Regions from separate parts of the Homo sapiens genome. Here region 1 is linked to region 2. The links are contacts of gene promoters, found by promoter capture Hi-C in blood cells and fetal thymus (Javierre and others, 2016). All regions are on one chromosome and are shown on one strand. Each heading gives the region's core, a stretch centred on a gene start or on the middle of the fragment in contact. The rest is flanking DNA. Distances are from core to core; before and after follow the strand shown.

Evidence for each region. The method cuts DNA at HindIII sites, captures the fragments that hold promoters and counts their contacts. A CHiCAGO score of 5 or more calls a contact.
Region 1: the fragment with the promoter of SLC18A3 here is called in contact with the fragment with the promoter of C10orf53 in region 2 in 3 of 17 cell types (fetal thymus, total CD4 T cells and megakaryocytes); the score reaches 6.1 in fetal thymus.

Annotation. Positions count from the first base shown.
Region 1 is chr10:49,606,987-49,612,940 of GRCh38, forward strand. It overlaps SLC18A3 (solute carrier family 18 member A3), which reads left to right and starts at 3,324. Exons shown (of 1, transcript NM_003055.3): 1 at 3,324-5,734. The coding sequence starts at 3,755. The coding sequence ends at 5,353. It also overlaps a transcript of CHAT not described here. RefSeq lists a silencer at 1-291 and enhancers at 1,661-2,456, 2,457-3,251, 4,296-5,192, 5,193-5,954. The HindIII fragment of the contact is 17,270 bases long and covers 1-5,954 here.
Region 2 is chr10:49,677,003-49,683,284 of GRCh38, forward strand. C10orf53 (chromosome 10 open reading frame 53) reads left to right here and starts at 2,649. Exons shown (of 3, transcript NM_001042427.3): 1 at 2,649-2,792. The coding sequence starts at 2,696. The HindIII fragment of the contact is 5,886 bases long and covers 1-4,159 here.

The DNA.
Region 1 (5,954 bases), core at 2,074-4,573, 69 kb before region 2:
TGGACAGGAAGTTCTCTGTTGCCTGCAAGTTATGCTCAGATAGAGGAGTCCGGAAAGGAATTTACCAAGCGTTCAAGTGAAGAGGAAGCCAGAGGGGCGGGGCCTCCGTGGGAGGCTTCTTGGTTGCGGTGGGGCCGGGGCCAGCACCCTGGACAGCTCCCGGCGGCTGGCGGGGAGAAGAGGCTTTGCCAGGTCCCATCTCGGCTCAGACCCTCCCGTAGCCTTTTGCTGCAGGGGCCTGACGCCTCCTTGCAACCCCGGCACTCCCGTATTTGGAGCCACGATGGATTGGGGGGGCGTTGCCCTCTGATCTGAAAGTTAGAGAATGAGGGAGTTTAGTGTCTTTGGAGCCTCCTTAGGGAGCCAGCCCAGGACCTTCCTCCTCCCATGGGTCTTGATCTGCTCCTCACCCCTACACTGCCAGCGTGCGGCCACCTTGGAGATGGAGCAGCAGGAGCACGACGCCGTGCCGGGAATAGGGAAGCAGTGTGAGGACCACAAGACAGGTCCCCCAGCCTGGGTTTAATTCCAGGATCTGCTGCTGGGAGCTTGGGCAAGCACCCAGCATCTCCACGCCCAGCTTCCTCACCTGATAAGACCAGGGGAATAGCACCTACACTGCACCAGGATTGCAGGAGAATGGAGTAAAACAGCACACACAATACTCCTGGCACAAAGCAAGTAATAAATGAGTGTGCCTCCTGCCATACAGGAACCGAGGACTGGAGAGCTAGTCATGAGCCCAGAGATACCTGGCTTCATGCTCAGGAACAGCCATGTGGGCCAGAGGGCTGGAGATGTGGTCTGCACCTTGAAGGCCCTGGGAAAGTTCCTGTCCTCTATGATTCCTCTGTTCTTCAGCCACTAGACATAAAAAAAAATTGTCCTTCAAGTCCTCCTTCCTCCTTTCTTTAATCAGACAGGGGAAATAGCATGTGCATAAATAATAATTGTTTTGTAGGCTGGGAGACTGCCCCTTTAAGAGCCTCATAATGGGAGAGTCAGAAGAGCCCAGAGGTCTCAAACGGAAATGACTGGAGAACCAGCAAGTGGCATAAGTGTGTGAAGTCAGCTGGGGCGAGATTGGGATGTGCTGGAGAGTGTGCATGTACTGACGAAAGGCCATCAAATACAATTTAAAATAATTAGCCCACTCCAAAGAGTCTTCTGCAGCACGCACTTCTGCTAAGGGCTGCAGTGAGTGGGCTCTCACCTCAACCTGAACCAGACGGAGGCTGAGGCTGGGCCCCACTGAGGGGCTGTGACTTGCCCAAGGTCATCCAGGGCCAGGCCTGTGCCCACATTGGGACTCTTTTCCTCCCTCAGACAGAGGGCACTTCAGTCACTGCAGAGCAGGTGGCAGCAGCCCTTCAGTGGATGAGTTTCTCCTTTCCCAGGGTGACTGGGTGGGTGAAGGAATTGAGCAACAGGTGGCCAGGCTGCCGCCTCTCACCCTGACACATTGGTCCCCATCCCCTCATCCTACAGCCATCTCAGGGACAGATGGAGACATTCCAATGCCCTCCGGGTCCTCCACCAACCCAGACAGAGCCTGGAGTCACAATGCCCACCTAGCCAGAGGGATCAGCCAGCTAGCCAAGTGCCCCCTGTGTCTTTCATCTGTTCTTCACAAGACCCACAAGTGAAAAATGAGGATAAACCGCACATTCTACACACGATAACAACATAGCAAGTCCTTATACTGCTCTTACTGTGTGCCCGGCCCCCTTAGCAGTAGGTACTATTATTATTCAATTTTACAAAGAAACTAACTGAGGGACAGAGAGGCAAAGTAATTCCCTGCAGGTACTCTAATGAGTACGTGGCAGAGCTGGGAGCCATCCTGGTTGTCTGCCTCGAAAGACCACACTCTTTGCACTGCATCGCGGCACTTCCTGCGGGGTGGGGGGCACAATGGGAGAAGCATCTGCGTCTAATGCTGCTTTACTTTTGAGGCCAGAAAAATGGGAAGGCTCCCCTCTGACTCTGGAAGAGAGACGCAAACCGTAATCTCAACAACACAATCCCCACCTCCAACCTCAGCCGCCCTGGAGCCTCTCTCCCGCCAGTCCGCCCACTGGAACACGGGTTCCATGTGCCATCCAGGGTCAACGCCGCTCTGGGGACGCGTCAGGCCCAGCGCACAGCCTGGGCAGCTCAGCCTGTCAGCTGAGCACGGGCGCCTCAAGGGGTGCGGCCCTCTCAGAAGGAAGGTGAGTCTCCCTGGAGCCCCTGACGACAGCGAAGCGGCTGGGCGCTCTCCGGGGAGTGGGCGCGGCACCCAAGAAGGGTTTCTTACAGTTCCAAGAGAGGACCCCAGCCACAGTCACTCCAGAGCCCACCCGGGGCTTGGAGGAGGCTCTGGAAAATGAGGGATGGGGGAGTGTGCAGAACAGGGGGCGGAGGCTGGCAGGAGCCGAGGGAGGGCTTGGTCGGGTGCGAAGAGTGCCTGGGAGGAGTTAGAGTGGGGAGGGGGTGCGGCGGCGGGGAGAGAAGAGGCGGAGCTGGGGGACCAGACCGCTAAAGGAGAAAGGGGGATTCCAGGCAAGGGGAATGTGGCCAGGCAGTGCGGGAGGGCGGCAGCGGCCAGGCTAATATTCGCGACCCCGACTGGGGCGCGGCAACTTCTGCCCTCAGTCCCCACAAGCTCCCGGCCGCGATTCGCGGCCGAGAAATTCTGCGGAGGGGCCGGTGGGTCAGAGCCAGGCCAGGCAGTTGCTGAGCCTTCCCCTCCCCTCCTGGCGGGAGTGTGTGTGCAAGGGGCCAGGGGGCGGAGTCGGAGAAAGGGTTGGGGGTGTCCGTGTCCAGCGCTCCTCCGGACGCGGCTCCACAATCCAGCTGCGAGAACAGATGGACGCAGCGGCGGCTCACCTCGGGGGCTTCCTGCTCGCTGTGCGCCGAGGTCCAGGCTGAAGCGGAGATCGCAAGCCTCTGGCTCCCGCCTCTCCCAAGGGGCCTCGAGGAACCGGCTGCCGCGCCCCCTTCCCCAAGAGGAGAAGAGCGGGCGCTGACCCCGCGAGTCCTAGAACCGCGGGCGGGGGGCAGGCAGGGGGCGGGGGGCAGAGGGCCAGCTACCGGCGCGGAACGCCCATCCCAGGGGCTGGTTCAAGACTTCCACACCGAGAGCCCTTCCTGGGCCTCCAGCCCTGGAGCATCTGGAGAGCGGACCCCTGCCCGGCCACGCCCCGCCCCCGGCCCCCGCCCCGCCGACGTCGCATTAGCATGAGCGACGTAAGTGGCCCGGGCACCACTCGGGGGCTGGGACTCGCCGCGTCACAGCCCCGAGTGGAAGGGAAAAAAAAAGAGGAGGCGGCGGAGGAGGCAAGAGCCGACGCGAGGGGAGGGGAGCGCAGCGGCGGGGCTAACGGGCGGGCAAGCGGGCGGGCGGCAACAGCATGTCCCTCGGCCAGCGCGGGCGGCCTCTTAGCGCGGCGGGGGCTGCTCTGGGCGCGCCCCGGGCGAAGTGCGCCCAGTCTCCGGCCCCGGCCCCTCGGCGCGCCCGACTTCCCGGCCGCCCCTGAGCCCAGCAGCCGCGGGTCCCGGGATCGGCTAAGAGTAGCTGCAACGCCTCGCCGGACGGAGTCCTTTCCTTTCCCGGGACGCTGGGCCATGAGCTCCGCGGCCACCTGAGGCACAGGGGAGTCTGCTCGGCCAGGACAGCCTCCCCGAAGTCCCGTGCCCTCGCCTCTGCACTGCGGGACGCCAGCGCTCGGCCCTGGCGGAGGCGTCCTCGGAAGAGCATCGGGGTGGGGGCATGGAATCCGCGGAACCTGCGGGCCAGGCCCGGGCGGCGGCCACCAAGCTGTCGGAGGCTGTGGGCGCGGCGCTGCAGGAGCCCCGGCGGCAGAGGCGCCTGGTGCTTGTTATCGTGTGCGTGGCGCTGTTACTGGACAACATGCTGTACATGGTCATCGTGCCCATAGTGCCCGACTACATCGCCCACATGCGCGGGGGCGGCGAGGGCCCCACCCGGACTCCCGAGGTGTGGGAGCCCACCCTGCCGCTGCCCACTCCGGCCAATGCCAGCGCCTACACGGCCAACACCTCGGCGTCCCCGACAGCTGCGTGGCCAGCGGGCTCAGCCCTTCGGCCCCGCTACCCTACGGAGAGCGAAGACGTGAAGATCGGGGTGCTGTTTGCTTCCAAGGCTATCCTGCAGCTGCTAGTGAACCCCTTGAGCGGGCCCTTCATCGACCGCATGAGCTACGACGTGCCGCTGCTGATCGGCCTGGGCGTCATGTTCGCCTCTACAGTCCTGTTCGCCTTCGCCGAGGACTACGCCACGCTGTTCGCGGCGCGCAGCCTGCAGGGCCTGGGCTCAGCCTTCGCCGACACGTCTGGCATAGCCATGATCGCCGATAAGTACCCGGAGGAGCCGGAGCGCAGTCGTGCACTGGGCGTGGCGCTGGCCTTCATTAGCTTCGGAAGCCTAGTGGCCCCGCCCTTCGGGGGCATCCTCTATGAGTTCGCCGGCAAGCGCGTGCCCTTCTTGGTGCTAGCTGCCGTGTCGCTCTTTGACGCGCTGTTGCTGCTGGCAGTGGCCAAACCCTTCTCGGCGGCTGCACGGGCTCGGGCCAACCTGCCAGTGGGCACTCCCATCCACCGCCTCATGCTAGACCCCTACATTGCCGTGGTGGCCGGCGCGCTCACCACCTGTAACATTCCCCTCGCCTTCCTCGAACCCACCATTGCCACGTGGATGAAGCATACGATGGCGGCTTCCGAGTGGGAGATGGGCATGGCCTGGCTGCCGGCCTTCGTGCCTCATGTGCTGGGCGTCTACCTCACCGTGCGCCTGGCGGCGCGCTACCCACACCTGCAGTGGCTGTACGGCGCGCTTGGGCTGGCTGTGATCGGCGCCAGCTCGTGCATCGTGCCCGCCTGCCGCTCCTTCGCGCCGCTAGTGGTCTCACTATGCGGCCTCTGTTTTGGCATAGCCCTAGTCGACACAGCACTGCTGCCCACGCTCGCCTTCCTGGTGGACGTGCGCCATGTCTCAGTCTATGGCAGCGTCTACGCCATCGCCGACATCTCCTATTCGGTGGCCTACGCGCTCGGGCCCATAGTGGCAGGCCACATTGTGCACTCGCTGGGCTTTGAGCAGCTCAGCCTTGGCATGGGACTGGCCAACCTGCTCTATGCTCCCGTCTTGCTGCTGCTCCGCAACGTGGGCCTCCTGACGCGCTCCCGTTCCGAGCGCGATGTGCTGCTTGATGAGCCACCGCAAGGTCTGTACGATGCGGTGCGCCTGCGTGAGCGTCCTGTGTCTGGCCAGGACGGCGAGCCTCGCAGCCCGCCTGGCCCTTTTGATGCGTGCGAGGACGACTACAACTACTACTACACCCGCAGCTAGCATCCCCACTCCTCCTCCAGCCCACCCAACCGCCTTGGGTCAAGGGGGCTGCTCTGCAAGCCCACTGGCCAGCTCTGGCTCAGGGCCCACCTCCTCCAGCGAGTACCCCAGCCACTCCTCAACCTTGACTTCTGCCCAAATCCCCTCCCTGTGACCCGTTCCATATCCCTTTCTCTCTTGTCCAATGGGGCTTGGAGCACCGAGGCCAGCGAAGCCATCGCGCTCCTTGCGGAGGTGAAGAGGACCCTGAGTCCCCACCTGCGGCTCCCCTGTGTAGAGCCTGCATCTGTCTGTCCTTCCTTCCATTGCTCCCAGTGCCAAACTTGGGCCGCTGCACCGCGGCGCCTCCGCCCAAATCAATAAACTGTGTCTGTCCCAGGAGGCCGAGTCTCTTTACTGGTGGGGGGTGCGTGGAGGCGCGCAGGGCCAGAGCAGAGGGGAGGGTGAACTGGGTCTCCAAGTCCCAATCCAGACCTAAGCCAAACTAACACGTAGGCACCTGTAGCTGTTTTTCTACCTGGAAAAGGGGATAGGAAGGAAGCAAACCCAACAAAGGCTGTCACCCACGGTCACCAAGGAGCACCATGCTCCCCTCAGCCCA
Region 2 (6,282 bases), core at 1,399-3,898:
TTCCATATGGCAGGCTAGTTAATTTGAACTAGGCTTCTTGAAGATGAGATCTTTTAAAATCTGGCATATATCTTTTAAAAAAGCATAAAAGAGCTTACTGAATGAAAATTAGAGAGAGAGCAAGAGTAATTAAGCATAGCATTGGGGCTTCTCTTACCCCAGGGCTATCTAGTGCTCTTGAATAGGCGGTCTAGAGAATGACCTGCATTTTTTCAGTCCTTGCAGATGTAGAGGGTACAAGAACTGGAGTCCGGCACCACCAAGGATGGGGAAACCCTGATAAGTCACCACCCTCCTTAAGTTAGGATCCCAAAGGACTGCACCACAGGAATTAGGATTAAATATAAATCAACCAATCTCCAAATGGACTGTAGCCCAGTTTTGAGTCATCTGGATGGCTCAGAAAAATCTCAAACTCTGAAACTGTATGAAGATGATCCTGGGTTGGTACAAGTAGGAGTTAACAAGAAGTAAATTTTAAAATCTTCTATAGGGGAAGATACTATCTTAGGCCTCAAATTGTTTCTACAAATACTTTTTTAATACAATGTCCAGCACACAATTAAAATAAACCAGAACTCTAGGAGACAAGATAAAATGCGTAGAAACCAGCGGAAATAATAAACCGCAGGACAAACACATGGGTTCTCCAAACAATGGAATTCTCAAACACAGTCTATAAAATACCTATCTTTACTACAATGAAGGAGATAAAGCCAAACCTAAAACACTTGGGAAGAAACTGAAAGTGGCACAGCAGATTTGAAAAGAGAACAAACTAAAATTCTAGAATTGAAAAATATATAACTGGAATAAACAATCAAATTCCTGGCTTTTCTTCTCAGTTAAGAGCCAAAAAGAAAATTCGTAGACTGGATTACAGGTAAAAATGAATGAATGCATGCATACAAACGTGTATACATACAACCCCAAAAGAAGTATGGAAGAAGAAAAAAGAGAAAAGCACAGAGAAGACACATGCAGATTACAATGAGAAGGTCTAACATATACCTAGCTGGAGTCCCTGAGAATGAGAAAATGGAACAAAAGCAATATGTGAAGAAATAATGACTCAAACTTTTCCAAAAACTGATGAAGGACTTTAATTCAGTTTCAAGAATCTCAACAAATCCCAAGAGAGGTAAAATATACAGTAGCATACGTTGAGAGAATTAGTGGGAAAGGGTTTTTTAAATCCTTTACTGTTACAGTAAAACTACAGAAAGCAAGAGATAAAGAAACATAAGCGGTCTTGAAAACAGAAGAGTAACGGAAAACAACTATTCATACAAAACTTTTAGCAAAGTTAAAACAACGTTAAATTTCTAATTAATAAAAACACTACAGTGAGTAGAGGATTTTTGCCTTTAAAGACGTGTACAAAGTTTATAGAGAACCAGAAAATAAGTCCTTCTAAGACAAGACAGGTAACCACATAGAGCCAAGAGGATGAATAATGACATCATGTACAGTCCTGCCTTCCTCCATAGTCTGCTGGGTTCAGCTGTGTTGGTGAATTCAGTGGTTCTTGTCCGATGGTGCGAAACTCAAGTGCTGGGGGAAATTATGTATGACCCATAATAATGTCAAAATTCTGCTGATATCATTCCTCTATTTAACAATCGTGTATAAACTAATTCTCATCAAAGAAATATGTATCATAGAACATACTGTACACGTGGAGAGAATTAAAATACACAGTAGCATACGTTGGGAGAATTAGTGGGAAAGGGTTTTTAAAATCCTTTACTGTTCAAAAGGAGGGTAAAAATATCAACTACAATTGAATATTTAGAAAGTAAAGAAATGCTGTAATCGCAAGGGTATTGCGATTGTTAGGTTGGGCTAATTTCTGTAATAAACAACCCCCAAAATCTCAGTGGTTATGGAATAAATGTTTCCTTCTGGCTTCGGTCACCAACTAATGCAGATGGGTGGGGCTCTATTCGGCGCAGCTACTCAGTGGTCCAGGTTCCTCCCACGTTTTGGGTCTGTCTCCCCGGGAGCCTCGGGTCCTCCCTGGGATCCCGTATCTGGCTACCGATAAGAAGAGGGAGACAGCAGGTGTGGAGGAGACTTTTTAGGAGCCATGCCTAGAAGTGGTGGATGTCTTTTATGTCCAAATTCCAATGAGCAGAACTGAGCAAATAAAAGGGAATTGGACGAATTCAGTTTTGGCTCCACCAAATAGCCTAACTGGTGACAGAAGGGGCCGGGGGAAGAAGGTGGGGGAAGAAGAATGATGAACGAATACTCCCAATCAATCAAAAAGAGGCAAGAAAATAGAAGAAATGCAAGGGTTTCCAATCCATACTACACCCCTGTCACTCTTGGGACCGCAACTTGCCCTCCCAGAGCCTCGGTTTTGTAAACAAAAAACATAAAATACTTCCTAGGGATGGTAAACTGATTCAACCAGATAACGCAGGGAAAATGCTTCGCACGCCGCCTGACACGAACTTACTGTGCCTGGCTGCTGCTGTTATTTATCACTAACACTTGCCACACCAGCTCAAACGCGCGTATTTGCGGACCAGGCGCTGAGGGTCACGTGAGCAGCTTGGGGCCGGGAGGATCCCCTAGCGCCACCCCGGCCCCGCCCGGCGCGTAGCGACGCCCACGCGCCCGGGCCGGAAGAGAGGTTGCTTAGCAGCGTGTGTTTCTCCCTTGCCTCTGCGGCGGCGGAGGCCTGGCGATGCCCAAGAACGCAGTGGTCATCCTGCGCTATGGGCCCTACAGCGCGGCAGGCCTACCGGTGGAGCACCACACCTTCCGCCTGCAGGGCCTGCAAGGTGGGCCTCCTCGCCGCGTGCGCCCCTGAGGGCCCCAGCCTCTGAGCATCCGTGCAGGTGGTGCCCTGTGCCTAGGCCTTCCTCAGACCCCCACGAAGCGCCACCTCTCCAGGAAGTCTTCCCCAGGATGATGTTGCAACCTATGGCTTCCAGGGCTGGGCTAAAAGAGTGGGAAGGCTCTTCTATCCAAGAGTGAGCTGTGGGCCCACCCAGTGCCCAGCAAATTACAGAAATTACCTCCATAGAAAAAATTACATAACCCTGCTTTAAGAATTGGGAAACTGAGGATCAAGAATATTAAGTGACTTTCACAACTCAAATGGCTGGGAAGTAGCGTTGCTGGTATTCCATCTCTTAATCGTTCATGCAGCAGACTTTTATTAAGCACGCAGTGTGTGTTGGACACCCTTCCAGGGACTGAGGACACACTGTTAAACAGTGATGAATGTCCTTGAAGTAATCTCCTTGTTAACTGCTAAATGACAGCTGTGCCTAAGCTCTGACTGAGGCTAGGTGGTGCCATGGGAGCTAACCACAGTGGGACCTGTGACTAGCCATAATGGGAGGGGAGAGGGAGAGGTCTGGAAAGGCTCATTTAAGTGGAGCCTTAAATGAGCCCACATTTAAGTAGACCTTTAAAGAATGAGTAGAAACTAACCAGGTAAAGAGAGGAATGCCTTCCAGGCAGAGGGACTAATAATATAGGCAATGGCTGGAGGCATTCAATAAATGATGTATTAATATTTGTTAAACTGATGGGGGATGAGGCTGGAGAGGTAATCAGGCCAGATCCTGCAGTGCCGCAGATAAGTTTTAGGCAGGGGATGAAGCTGTTGCTGCTCTGAGGAGAACAGATTAGAGGGGGCAAGAGTGGAAACAAGGAAGACAAGTCTGTTGGGGTGGTCCAGGGCTGAGATGAGAGTAGCTTGGACCATAAAGGAGACCATGGATCAAAGTGAAAGCAATGGTACTTCCTGAGAGGATGGAGGTGGGAGGTAAGGGTAAAAAGAATGTTATCCGGATCTAATCAGTGTCTGACTTGAAACAGTGCTGATGGATGGATGTACTGTCCACTAAAATCAAAGACACCAAAGATGGACCAAAATTTGGAGGAATATGTGGAATCGTTCCAAAGGAACAGTCTATTTTGGTCATACAGATAGTCCCCAACTTAGACTTCTTGACTTTAGCATGGGTTTATTGGGAGGTAACCCTATCCTAAGTTGAGGCACATCTGAACCTACAATGGTTCCACTTAACGATTTTTCCACTTTATGATGGGCTTATCCAGGTATTAAGCCCACTTTCCACTTACAGTGGGCTCATTGGGACCTAGCCCCATCATAAGTCAAGGAGCATCTGAATTAAGCTTCATGTGCTTTCGGCTACCTAGACAGAGGTGCTGAATCAGCTCTGTTGTTCTGGAGTTCAGAGAAAAAGTCTGAAATGGAGATAGAAAGATGTGAGTCATTGACTTGGAGAGAACATATAGAATGAGATGAGAGCCCAGGAATGACCATTGATGAACTCCCATCCTATGACCCAAACTAAGAGTCTTCCAGGCAAAATACCCTGAAGCCTAAGGACACAAAAATTAGTTTTAGCTGAGCAATCAGGGAAAGCCTCCTGGAAGAGATGGCATTTGAGTTTGAGTTTGAAGGATGGGTAGGATTTCAATCAGCAGAGGAAGTTACTTTCTGTGAGAGAACAGTTGATAGAGAAATTTCTGTTGCAAATACCTCCATGTTTGTATTTGTCTATTGGGATTGCCAAAACAAAATACCATAGACTATGGGACTTAAACAATAGAAATATATTTTTTCAGTCTAAAGGCTAAAAGTCCCTGATCAAGGTCTGGCAAGGTCAGCTTCTGGTGAGGGCTCTGGGCGCTCTTCCTGGCTTGCTGACAGCCACCTTCTCTTTTGTCCTCACCTGGTGGGATTATATGGGGAGAGCGGGGAGCAAGCTCACTGGTGTCTCTTCTTATAAGAAGAAAGACACTAATCCTATCAGATTGGGTCCTCATCCTTATAACCTCATTTAACCTTAATTACCTCTTTAAGCACCTGTAGTCACATTGGGAGTTAGGGCTTCCATATATGAAGTTGGGGGAAGGGGGGCAACAATTCAATTCCTAGCAGTGTTGCATGGTGATGTTTAAAATGTTTTGTAGTTTTGGCTAAGAAGACAGCCTAAATAAGTGACTTTTCTCTTCCTCCCCCTCTGATGAGCCACACCTACCCACCCTCACCTCATAATCTACCTTTAGTTTATGTTCACTGTCTCTAAAAATAACGTGGGTAAAACATATATTTAAAATGTTGCCATTTTAACCATGTTAAGCATACAATTCAGTGACATTAATTATCTTTACAATGTTGTGGAACCATCACTATTCTCTCTTTTTAAAATTTTTCAACACCCCAGACAGAAACTGTATTCCTTAAGCAACAACACCCTATCCCTCTGTGTCCAGAATTTATTCCTTCTGGTGGGTTCATGGTCTCGCTGACTTCAAGAATGAAGCCAGGGACCTCGCGGTGAGTGTTACAGCTCTTAAAGGTGGTGCATCCAGAGTTGTTTGTTCCTCCTGGTGGGCTCGTGGTCTCGCTGACTTCAGGAATGAAGTTGCAGACCCTTGCAGTGAGTGTTACAGCTCTTAAAGGTGGTGCAGACCCAAAGTGAGCAGCAGCAAGATTTATTATGAAGAGTGAAAGAACAAATCTCCCAAAGCGTGGAGGGGGACAGGAGCCAGTTGCTGCTGCTGGCGCAGGGGGACAGGAGCCAGTTGCTGCTGCTGGCGCAGGTGGCCAGCTTTTATTCCCTTAGTTGGTCCCGCCCATGTCCTGCTGATTGGTCCATTTTACAGAGTGCTGATTGGCTCATTTTACAGAGTGCTGATTGGTGCATTTACAATCCTCTAGCTAGACACAGAGTGCTGATTGGTGCATTTACAATCCACTAGCTAGACAGAAAAGTTCTCCAAGTCCCCACCCGACCCAGAAGCCCAGCTGGCTTCACCTCTCACCTCCACCCCCAGCCCCTGGTAACCTGCAATCTACTTTGTAGCTTATTTCACTTAGCATAATATTTCAAGGTTTATCCATGCTACAGCATGTATTATACTACTTTATTCCTTTTTGTGGCAGATATGCCATATTTTGTTTATCTGTTTATCTGTTGATAGACACTTGGGTTGTTTCCACCTTTCCGCTACTGTGAATAGTGCTGTTATGAACACTGGTAAACAAATATCTGTTTGAATCCCTTTGTTTTAAGGGACTGAAATTGCTGAGTCATATGGTAATTCTATATTTAACTTTTTGAGGAATGACCAAACTGTTTTCCAAAGCAGCTGCACCATTTTACATTCCCACTAGCAATGCACAAGGATTTCAATTTTCTTTGGTTTTAATTACAGCCATCGCAGTAGGTGTGAAATGGTAGCTTGTGGTTTTCACTTAAATTTCCCTAATGATTGGTGATGTTG